Regions from separate parts of the Homo sapiens genome. Here all the other regions are linked to region 1. The links are contacts of gene promoters, found by promoter capture Hi-C in blood cells and fetal thymus (Javierre and others, 2016). All regions are on one chromosome and are shown on one strand. Each heading gives the region's core, a stretch centred on a gene start or on the middle of the fragment in contact. The rest is flanking DNA. Distances are from core to core; before and after follow the strand shown. Region 1 holds the start of CARS1 (cysteinyl-tRNA synthetase 1). Region 2 overlaps NAP1L4 (nucleosome assembly protein 1 like 4). Region 3 overlaps NAP1L4 (nucleosome assembly protein 1 like 4).

Evidence for each region. The method cuts DNA at HindIII sites, captures the fragments that hold promoters and counts their contacts. A CHiCAGO score of 5 or more calls a contact.
Region 2: a fragment that was not itself captured here is called in contact with the fragment with the promoter of CARS1 in region 1 in 2 of 17 cell types (naive CD8 T cells and naive CD4 T cells); the score reaches 5.7 in naive CD8 T cells.
Region 3: a contact is called between a fragment that was not itself captured here and the fragment with the promoter of CARS1 in region 1, in 1 of 17 cell types (total CD8 T cells). The highest score is 5.9, in total CD8 T cells.

The regions. Positions count from the first base shown.
Region 1 is chr11:3,056,019-3,058,718 of GRCh38, reverse strand. CARS1 (cysteinyl-tRNA synthetase 1) reads left to right here and starts at 1,296. Exons shown (of 23, transcript NM_001014437.3): 1 at 1,296-1,376. The coding sequence starts at 1,352. It overlaps LOC124902615 (a long non-coding RNA gene), which reads right to left and starts at 95. Exons shown (of 2, transcript XR_007062555.1): 1 at 1-95. RefSeq lists an enhancer at 1,110-1,642. The HindIII fragment of the contact is 6,695 bases long and covers 1-2,700 here.
Region 2 is chr11:2,977,758-2,980,457 of GRCh38, reverse strand. It overlaps NAP1L4 (nucleosome assembly protein 1 like 4), which reads left to right. Exons shown (of 16, transcript NM_005969.4): 2 at 1,221-1,251; 3 at 2,116-2,174. The coding sequence starts at 1,238. Among named protein-coding and RNA genes, the nearest start is that of NAP1L4, 13 kb to the left of the region's middle. The HindIII fragment of the contact is 821 bases long and covers 1,040-1,860 here.
Region 3 is chr11:2,950,792-2,953,517 of GRCh38, reverse strand. It overlaps NAP1L4 (nucleosome assembly protein 1 like 4), which reads left to right. Exons shown (of 16, transcript NM_005969.4): 13 at 1,709-1,738; 14 at 2,203-2,259. Among named protein-coding and RNA genes, the nearest start is that of SNORA54, 12 kb to the left of the region's middle. The HindIII fragment of the contact is 2,285 bases long and covers 181-2,465 here.

The DNA.
Region 1 (2,700 bases), core at 47-2,546:
CACAGAGCCTCCCACATCCTGGGCAAGTTACAGCACATGCTACAGGATCTTTGCAGAAATGTAAACAAACTCTTTCTTCTTTTTTTTTTCCAGCCACCAGTAGAATTTAGAATTTATTTATTTATTATTTTATTTATTTATTTATTTATTTATTTATTTGAGACGGAGTCTCACTCTGTTGCCAGGCTGGAGTGCAATGGCGCAATCTCGGCTCATTGCAACCTCCACCTCCCTGGTTCAAGCGATTCTCCTGCCTCAGCCTCCTGAGTAGCTGGGACTACAGGCAAGCGCCACCATGTCCAGCTAATTTTTGCATTTTTAGCAGAGACAGGGTTTCACCATGTTGGCCAGGATGGTCTCGATCTCTTGCCCTCATAATCCGCCCACCTCGGCCTCCCAAAGTGCTGGGATTACAGGTGTGAGCCACCGTGCCCGGCCTTAGAATTTATTATGAAATTAGACATGAGGTTCCAAAAAGTAACTAGAAGATTTTTTACTTTTTATTTTTTGAGAAAGGGTCTCACTCTGTCGCCTAGGCTGGAATGCAGTGGCACAGTCGTAGCTCACTGCAGCTTCAAACTCCTGGACTCAAATGATCCTCCTGCCTTGTCCTTTCAAGGTGCTGGGATTACAGGCATGAGCCACTAATCCTGGCTAATAATTTTTCTTGACATATTAAAATTCTGTTTCTTAAATAGCATTTCCTCTCATTTTGGATGGGTGCACGAACCTTGGGTGGGATATCCTTGGGAGGTGACATCATGCACACAGAAGGCAGGAGCCCTAAGGGGGTTGGGGATGGCTCCAGAATGGGGTCTGAGAAGGAGATGGAGAAGCCTGTTCACGCAACACTTCATAGTGGCTTGCTTTCCGCAGGGTCATTGGCAGGGCGGTCCCTAGGCCTGGAGCGCTCTTCCCGCCCATCCCCAGGCCCTGCTCCAGGTCGGCCTCCTGGGAACCATCCCGTCTCGCCAGCACACCCTGTCCCGAGGCCGCCTCTGACCTCCAGGCTGGGCCTGGTCCCCACGGCGCTTAGCGCAATCATGACTTAAACACCTATTACAGGACGCTCAGTCTTTAGTGCTTGTCTCCCCGCGGCTGGGCTGACTACTCCCAGCACGGCCACTGAACGCTTGGCCGCGCGATGCTCCGGAGCGCGGGTCGCCATTGGGTTGAACTACAGCTCCCAGCATGCTCCGGGCCGGCGACATCCGGAGCCCCTGGTAGTTGCCTAGCGACCGGGCGTGTCCCGGAAGACGGGCCCGGCGTGGGGCGCGACTTCCGGGGCGGCGGTTGCATCAGATTCTAGGAAGTGTCTGTAGCCGCAGCTGCGGGTCCGGGATTCCCAGCCATGGCAGATTCCTCCGGGCAGCAGGGTGAGCGGCGCGGCCGGGCCAGGCTGAGGGCGGCTGGGGGCCTGACTGGGCGCTGGGTGCTCGGCTCGAAGGGCAGCGAGTCCTTATGTCTGAGGGGCCCGGGTGCATGGGTTCTGAGGGGCAGCTGTGTCCGTGGTCTGAGGGGCGGCAGTGCCCGAGGTCTGAGGGGTGTCAGTGCGCGGGGTCTGAGGGACGGCACGTCCTTGGGTCCGAGGGGCGGGGGTGCTCGGGGTCTGAGGGGTGTCAGTGCCCGGGGTCTGAGGGACGGCGGGTCCTGAGGTTCGAGGGGTGGCACGTCCTAGGATCCGAAGGACAACGGGTGCCCGGCTCCGAGGGACGGCCACTGGGACCCCTGGGACTCCTGCGTGAGGGTCTGCCAGACCCGTGGCTGGAGCACAGACCCCGCGGGGACCCGAGCCCGAGCGGGGCGCTGCCCAGACCACCCAGCCTCAGTTTCCTCACTTGGTTCCTGCCGAGGTCCCCTTGCATCCTCACCCCGGGAGGTGGCCCTACATCAAACAGCCTTTCCCCAGCCGGTGCCTGGGCGGGCCCTCGCTCCCTCTTGCCCCAGCTGGCCTTTAGGGGGGAGACAAAGGCCCAAGGGTTGTTTTGGTTTTCTGCCCAGACCTGGCAGCTTCCGGGAGGTGGGCGGAGGGCACCTGAGGTTGGTATTTAGGGAAATGGGGCAGAGGACGCCAGGGGTACGCGTACACACAGTAAAAGGGCTTGGGGCTTTACGAAGGCTTTCATCTCCAGTTCCGCAGGCAGTCCACTGCAAGCTGATTGTCAGAGCATTACTGCCCCATTTTATTGCCAACCCGGGAGGTTCCCCAGGGACACAGCTGTGTCAGCTCCCCCAGTCACTCATGTCACCAGCGGGTAGACCTTGAGAGACCAGTGGGTTCTTCTCTCACTGTCCCTCCAGCAAGATTTTAGGTGCTGGAAAGGCAAGAGACTGAATCAGAAAGCCCAGATTCCTAACAGTCTGGAGCAGCCTTTCCAAAGGAAACATTCTCAGTATCTAGTTTTTAATTCTTTTGGCTGGCAAAAATTAGATGCAAGTTCTTGTAAGACACCTCCAGCCCCCACCCTCAGTTTAGATCGTACCAAGATTTCCTTAGCATCTGGTGGTGCCCTTTGCCCCTGAGGGTTTATTGGGTTATAGATAGGTAGTTATGACAACCCGAGTAATCTGGCGGCATGGGGACACCCAGATGACAGGGCTACACTCTTGTGCCAAGTGGCAGGAGGTGGTCACCTTCCAGGCACGCCGCCTACCACCCTACCTGTGTGCCTGGATTCCAGCACCATCTCCACCCGTCCC
Region 2 (2,700 bases), core at 201-2,700, 78 kb after region 1:
TCCCAACACTTTGGTAGGCTGAGGTGGGAGGATCTCTTGAGGCCAGGAGTTTGGGACTCAGCCTGGGCAACTTAGCCAGACCCTATCTCTACAAAAAATAAAATTAGCTGGGCATGGTGGCCTGCGCCTGTTGTCCCAGCTACTCAGGAGGCTGAGATGGGAGGATTGCTTGAGCCCAGTAAGTTGAGGCTGCAGTGAGCCAGGATTGCATCACTACACTGCAGCCTTGGTGACTGAGATCCTGTCTCAAAAAAAATGATAACTTTTTTTTAGTTTTATTAATATCAAGTTCTTCTATTTAAGAAGTAAATGCCCTAGAACACACCCTTAATATTCAGTTACAATGTCATCTAATTCTACCAATATAGAAATAATCATCTTTAAAAGTGGAATAATACTGAGTATATTACACAAGGTTTTTACACAAGCAATACATCCTCAGTGTAGAAGTAATGGAAGATACGGAATAAACAAATGCAATTAGAAAATAATCCCATAAGTTAATTTGAAAGTGTAAACACCAGTAAATGCTTTGACTTACTCTAAAATGGTTGGGCTATCATTAATGTATGTTTGTGTTGCCGAATGTATTATAAAAAATAAGGCAAATTAGAATTAATGTTATTCTGAAGTCTGGTTATTTTAGTGCCAATAAGATAATTTTATTTTATTTTATTTTTTTTTTTAGATGGAGTTTCACTCTTGTTGCCCAGGCTGGAGTGCAGTGGCATGATCTCCGCTCGCTGCAACCTCCGCCTCCTGGGTTCAAGTGATTCTTCTGCCTCAGCCTCCTGAGTAGCGGGGATTACAGGCGTGCACCACCACGCTCAGCTAATTTTGTATTTTTAGTAGAGATGGGGTTTCACCATGTTGGTCAGGCCGGTCTCGAACTCCTGAGCTCAAGTGACCCACCCACCTCGGCCTCCCAAAGTGCTTGGATTACAGGCGTGAACCACCGCGCCAGGCCGAGAAATTTTTTTATGAGTAAAGTTTGTGTGTGATGAAATGCACAGATCTGAAGTGTATAGTTTAATAAGCTTTAACAAGTGTATATACTCAGGTAACCTCAGTCAAGATCTAGAACATTTTCATCACTCTAGAAAGTTCCCTCCTGTCCCTTCTAGTGGACTCCATCCCACAGATAACCGTTGTTTAAAAAGTATATTGAACAAACATTTTTGCTTATGAATATAATTATTACAACTCTTTTTAATTTATAGGGGATAAAAACATTCAGATGGCAGATCACAGGTAAGCCAAAGTGGACTTTGTTTATTGGAGTTTAAAATTCAGTTGGTGAGCAACAGCCAAGCCATTTTTCAATAAATAATTAGAATCAAAGTTAAATGCATTTCAGCGTCTAGCTGATGGCTCATTTCTTGTGTATGTATTTGAGCACGTAAAGAAATTACTTCCGACATGAACAGTGCCTCAGACATTGACACTACAGATCTTTTATGGAAAGCAATCGTTTTGCTCTCCATGCTTTAACACCCCTGGGGTGAAGTTAGGTAATTTTGACACTCTCCTAACAGTCTGTAGTTGTCAGTGATCAAGTGGAAGATTTTGTTTTGTGGATTGAGGGTTACTTTTAGTTGTGTATATTATTTGATGTTTATTTTTTGTGAGGGAGGTGTGTCCAGGCATCTTTAAAAACTGTTTCATGGCTCATTTTACACTTGTTGTGGCTAATTTTACAAAGCCACTTTGGGCACTGTCTTAACTTGGTAAGACTGCCTTGCTCTGATCACATGAGCAGCTGACCAAACAGTAACATGTTCGTTGGTTGATGGGTTTGGTTTGAGGGCTGGGAGCAGATTTTTTGAGGAAAGAAGCTGTAGAAATGAGAGCTAAGAAGCTTTGGCTAAGGTTGGAAATAAGAACTTTGTAGGGCTTTATGTTTGGGAGAGGAGAGGGGATGTTACGTAGTAGAATATTTTTATAGCAGAGAGGACAGCCTCTGAGATAACATGCACATTGGTAGTTTTCTTCTGCCCAAATCTGACGTCACTGTACAGATACCTCTTAATATATTGAATAAGAAACATGTCCATTTGTGCTATGTCTTTGGAACTTTCTTTACAGTAATACTTTTTAAACATACTGTTGTTTTAGTTTTTCAGATGGGGTTCCTTCAGATTCCGTGGAAGCTGCTAAAAATGCAAGTAACACAGGTCAGTCCACTGCACATGGAGAGTTTGCATCCAGTATGGGGAACGTTCCTCTCTCTGGAAACATTTATTAATGCAAGTAAAGGATTCCTGTACTGCAGTGGTTTTAGGAAAGCTAGAGTAATTAAAATGAAAAATCAGTATCTCATTAACAAAAGATGTATTTATTATAGGAATTCAGACTCTACAGTAGTAAAGAGAGTAATAGTACAGTCTACCTTCTTGTAGCTACCATCAGTGAGCTTTAGTATTGATTAACAAATGACCAGTCTTTTTTCTTATTTTTGAGATGGAGCCTTGCTGTGTTACCCAGGCTGGTCTTGGACTCCTGGGCTCAAGCAGTTTCCTGCCGCAGCCTCCCAGGTAGTTGGGGCTACAGGCACAGACCACTGCTCCTGGCCATTTTTTTTTTTTTTTTTTAAGTCTATACCCTTTACTTTCCTTCCTTTGGAAAGCAAATCCTAAGAATGTCATTTTGTTCATAAATTCACAGATGTGATATTTTTCCACCATTAAAAAAAACTATATC
Region 3 (2,726 bases), core at 74-2,573, 110 kb after region 1:
TTTCCAGTAGAACTTTCTCTGTTGATGGAACTGTCCTCTGCCTGCTTGGTCCAGTGCAGTAGGACTGACCACTTGAGGACTTGAAATATGGCTGCTGAGACTGAAGAACTGAACATTTCATTTACCTTAGTTTAAATTTAAATAGTGAGCTAAGGGCTAGTGGCTACACATTGGAAAGCTTATCTGAAACTGTTTTGATCATACACCCGTCAGTTTAAAGGACTTGAATATGCATGTGTGCTATTTGCTTACTTATATGCGGTATCTGTACTGCTGGTGAGCACTGTGCCACATTTGCTTATAGTACATGTGCGTTTCATTCACAATACGTTCAGCACAGGTACTACTGATGAGCAGTGTCAGTTAGAGGCTAGAAGTGCCAGCTCAGATTAGACTGCTCAGACTCGCATCCCCATTCTCCCTTTAGTAGCTCCACCACCTCCTTGAGCTTCAGTTTCCTCAGCTGTAAGTAGAGCTCATGGTAAAGACTCTGGTTACTTGTTAAGCCCTTAACATAGCACCTGGCACAGAGCAATGACTCAGTAAGTGTTGGCATAAAGTGTTTTACTAATGTTACTTTCTAGACCGTACCCCAACACTAGAAAGTTGTTGGAGGAGGAGGTGAATGTGGGAACCCTGGTCTTGTCTTCTCTGCACGTGGCAGCTCCTGCTCTGCCCAGGTGGGTGATGCATCTGGAGCAGCCCCTGTGCACAGCCCCTTAAGGGCAAAATGCTGTCCTTAGAGCCTTGGAATAGGCCCTGGAGCCTGCTGGAGGCTCGTTGGATCTGACGTGAAATGGAAGAATATTGAGAAGCCTTTCCCTGCCTGATGCCAGTTAGGGTCCTTAGAGCGGAAGGGCGCTGCACCGTGGCCACATCTCATCCTGGCTGCTGCGTGGCGCCAGGAGGCTGTGCACACTGTGTGAACTCCACACCAGCACAGTAGGGCCCTTCTAAGTTCCACCGAAGTTGGCTCTAAGCAAATACATGGTGTGAGCTCAACAAAATGGGAAATGTTGATAAATGAAGCTGCATTTTCATGCACTACCCTTGTTATGCAACCAGTAGTGATAAGGTGGTTTTGCTTTTGGTGTAAGTCTCATGTTTGAAACTTGATTTTTAGTCTGACCAATGATGTATTTGGATGTAGGAGAAACTGATTCAAGACAATTGACTAATGGTGGAGGTTCACCTTTGAGCACCTTATTGATCACTTTAAAGATTAAACACCAAAGTTTTAATATATTTCTACTAAGGTTTCTTTTCCCTTTGTATGAGATGTAAAATGATACCCAGATTCCTGTATCCAATAACATTATGCTGCTGGTTCGATCAGCCTTGTAGAAAATTTAAGGAAAACAAATTCATCGGTTTACAAAAATCTTTTCCTGTGTGCCTGCTCCTCGGTGTGAGAACAGCCAGGGCAGAGCTGTGGTGCCAGGTTCCCAGCTGTGTCCAGGGTACACCCTGGCTGACCAGCTTCCTATCCTATTCCTTGTTTTGCGTGACTTTCAATTTCCTGGCATGCTTTTAAAATGCGCTGCACACAAGCAAATGGCTCCTCAGGCAAGCGAGGCCCAGCAGGCAGCGTGGCTGGACTTTCTGCTCCTCTTAGGCTTGGTCAGTGAGTCACTTGATGGGACTGGTGTCTTGGGCAGGCTGCTGTCATGTTTTGTAAACCTAAAAATGTTTTTCTGTGTTTCTCCAGTTTGAAGAAGGTGAAGAAGGAGAAGAGGAGGTAAGAGACAGGTTTATGCAGTGCCACTTACCTCCCTGAAGTTGTTTCTTTGGCTTTCTCTGCTTGAAGGTTATGGACTCACAGGGCTGTGTTAAACCCATTTTTTGTGACGCTGTCTTTGATTCTAAGAATGTTCTTAAAACACTAAGCAGAAATGCATAGCAAATGCTGTGACAGTTTCCATCGTTTTTGACCCTGCAGTTGGTTCATGAAAATGTATCTTAGAAAATAATCATTTAACAAAATCTACTTTTTCAGAATTTTGTTTCTTTCAGGGCTCTCTGTGAGAACAAAAAGATACCTAGAAATAATTCTAAGTGTCCAAAGGAAGTGATGAGTCACTTGTGGGTAGCAGTAATTGATTTCCATCTAAGGCAGTGTTTTGCTCCTTGTGTTTGTGGATTGTGAATGCCACAAGAGTTTAAATCTTGTCATTCCAGCTAATTCTCACTTTTTAAATACAGGAATTAGAAGGTGACGAGGAGGGAGAAGACGAGGATGATGCGGAAATTAACCCCAAGGTTGGTAACTTTGGGGCCACCCAGACCTACTTATTATGCTGCACTCTTAGACTTTTAAAAATGTTCCCCACTTTGAGGCAGTAGTGTTAACAATATTCATTATTCCCTAATTAGAAAGTTTAAAATGTGTCAGAAAAATAGTGGAATGATTATTCAGACACTGTGTCTATAATTTGAGTGTTGAGTGTACATACTCAGTAGAAGCTTTTCCAGCTGTCTCAAGCTGTGTCTTATTTACATAGACTCCTCAGTAGAGCAACTTGACTTTCCAAGTGTTTCATTCTTTTAAGGTAAGGTAATGATTTAACTGACAACATAAATAAACTTTTCTTTGTGCGTGTTTGGAAAAGGTGCAAAGAAGGGACTTTGGGGCTCTTTTTGTTAAGGAACAGAATAATGGGATTGTGGGCATCATTTGACCCAGTTGCACTTGAGCTGAGCATGCCCAGATGATGTGTCTAGATATC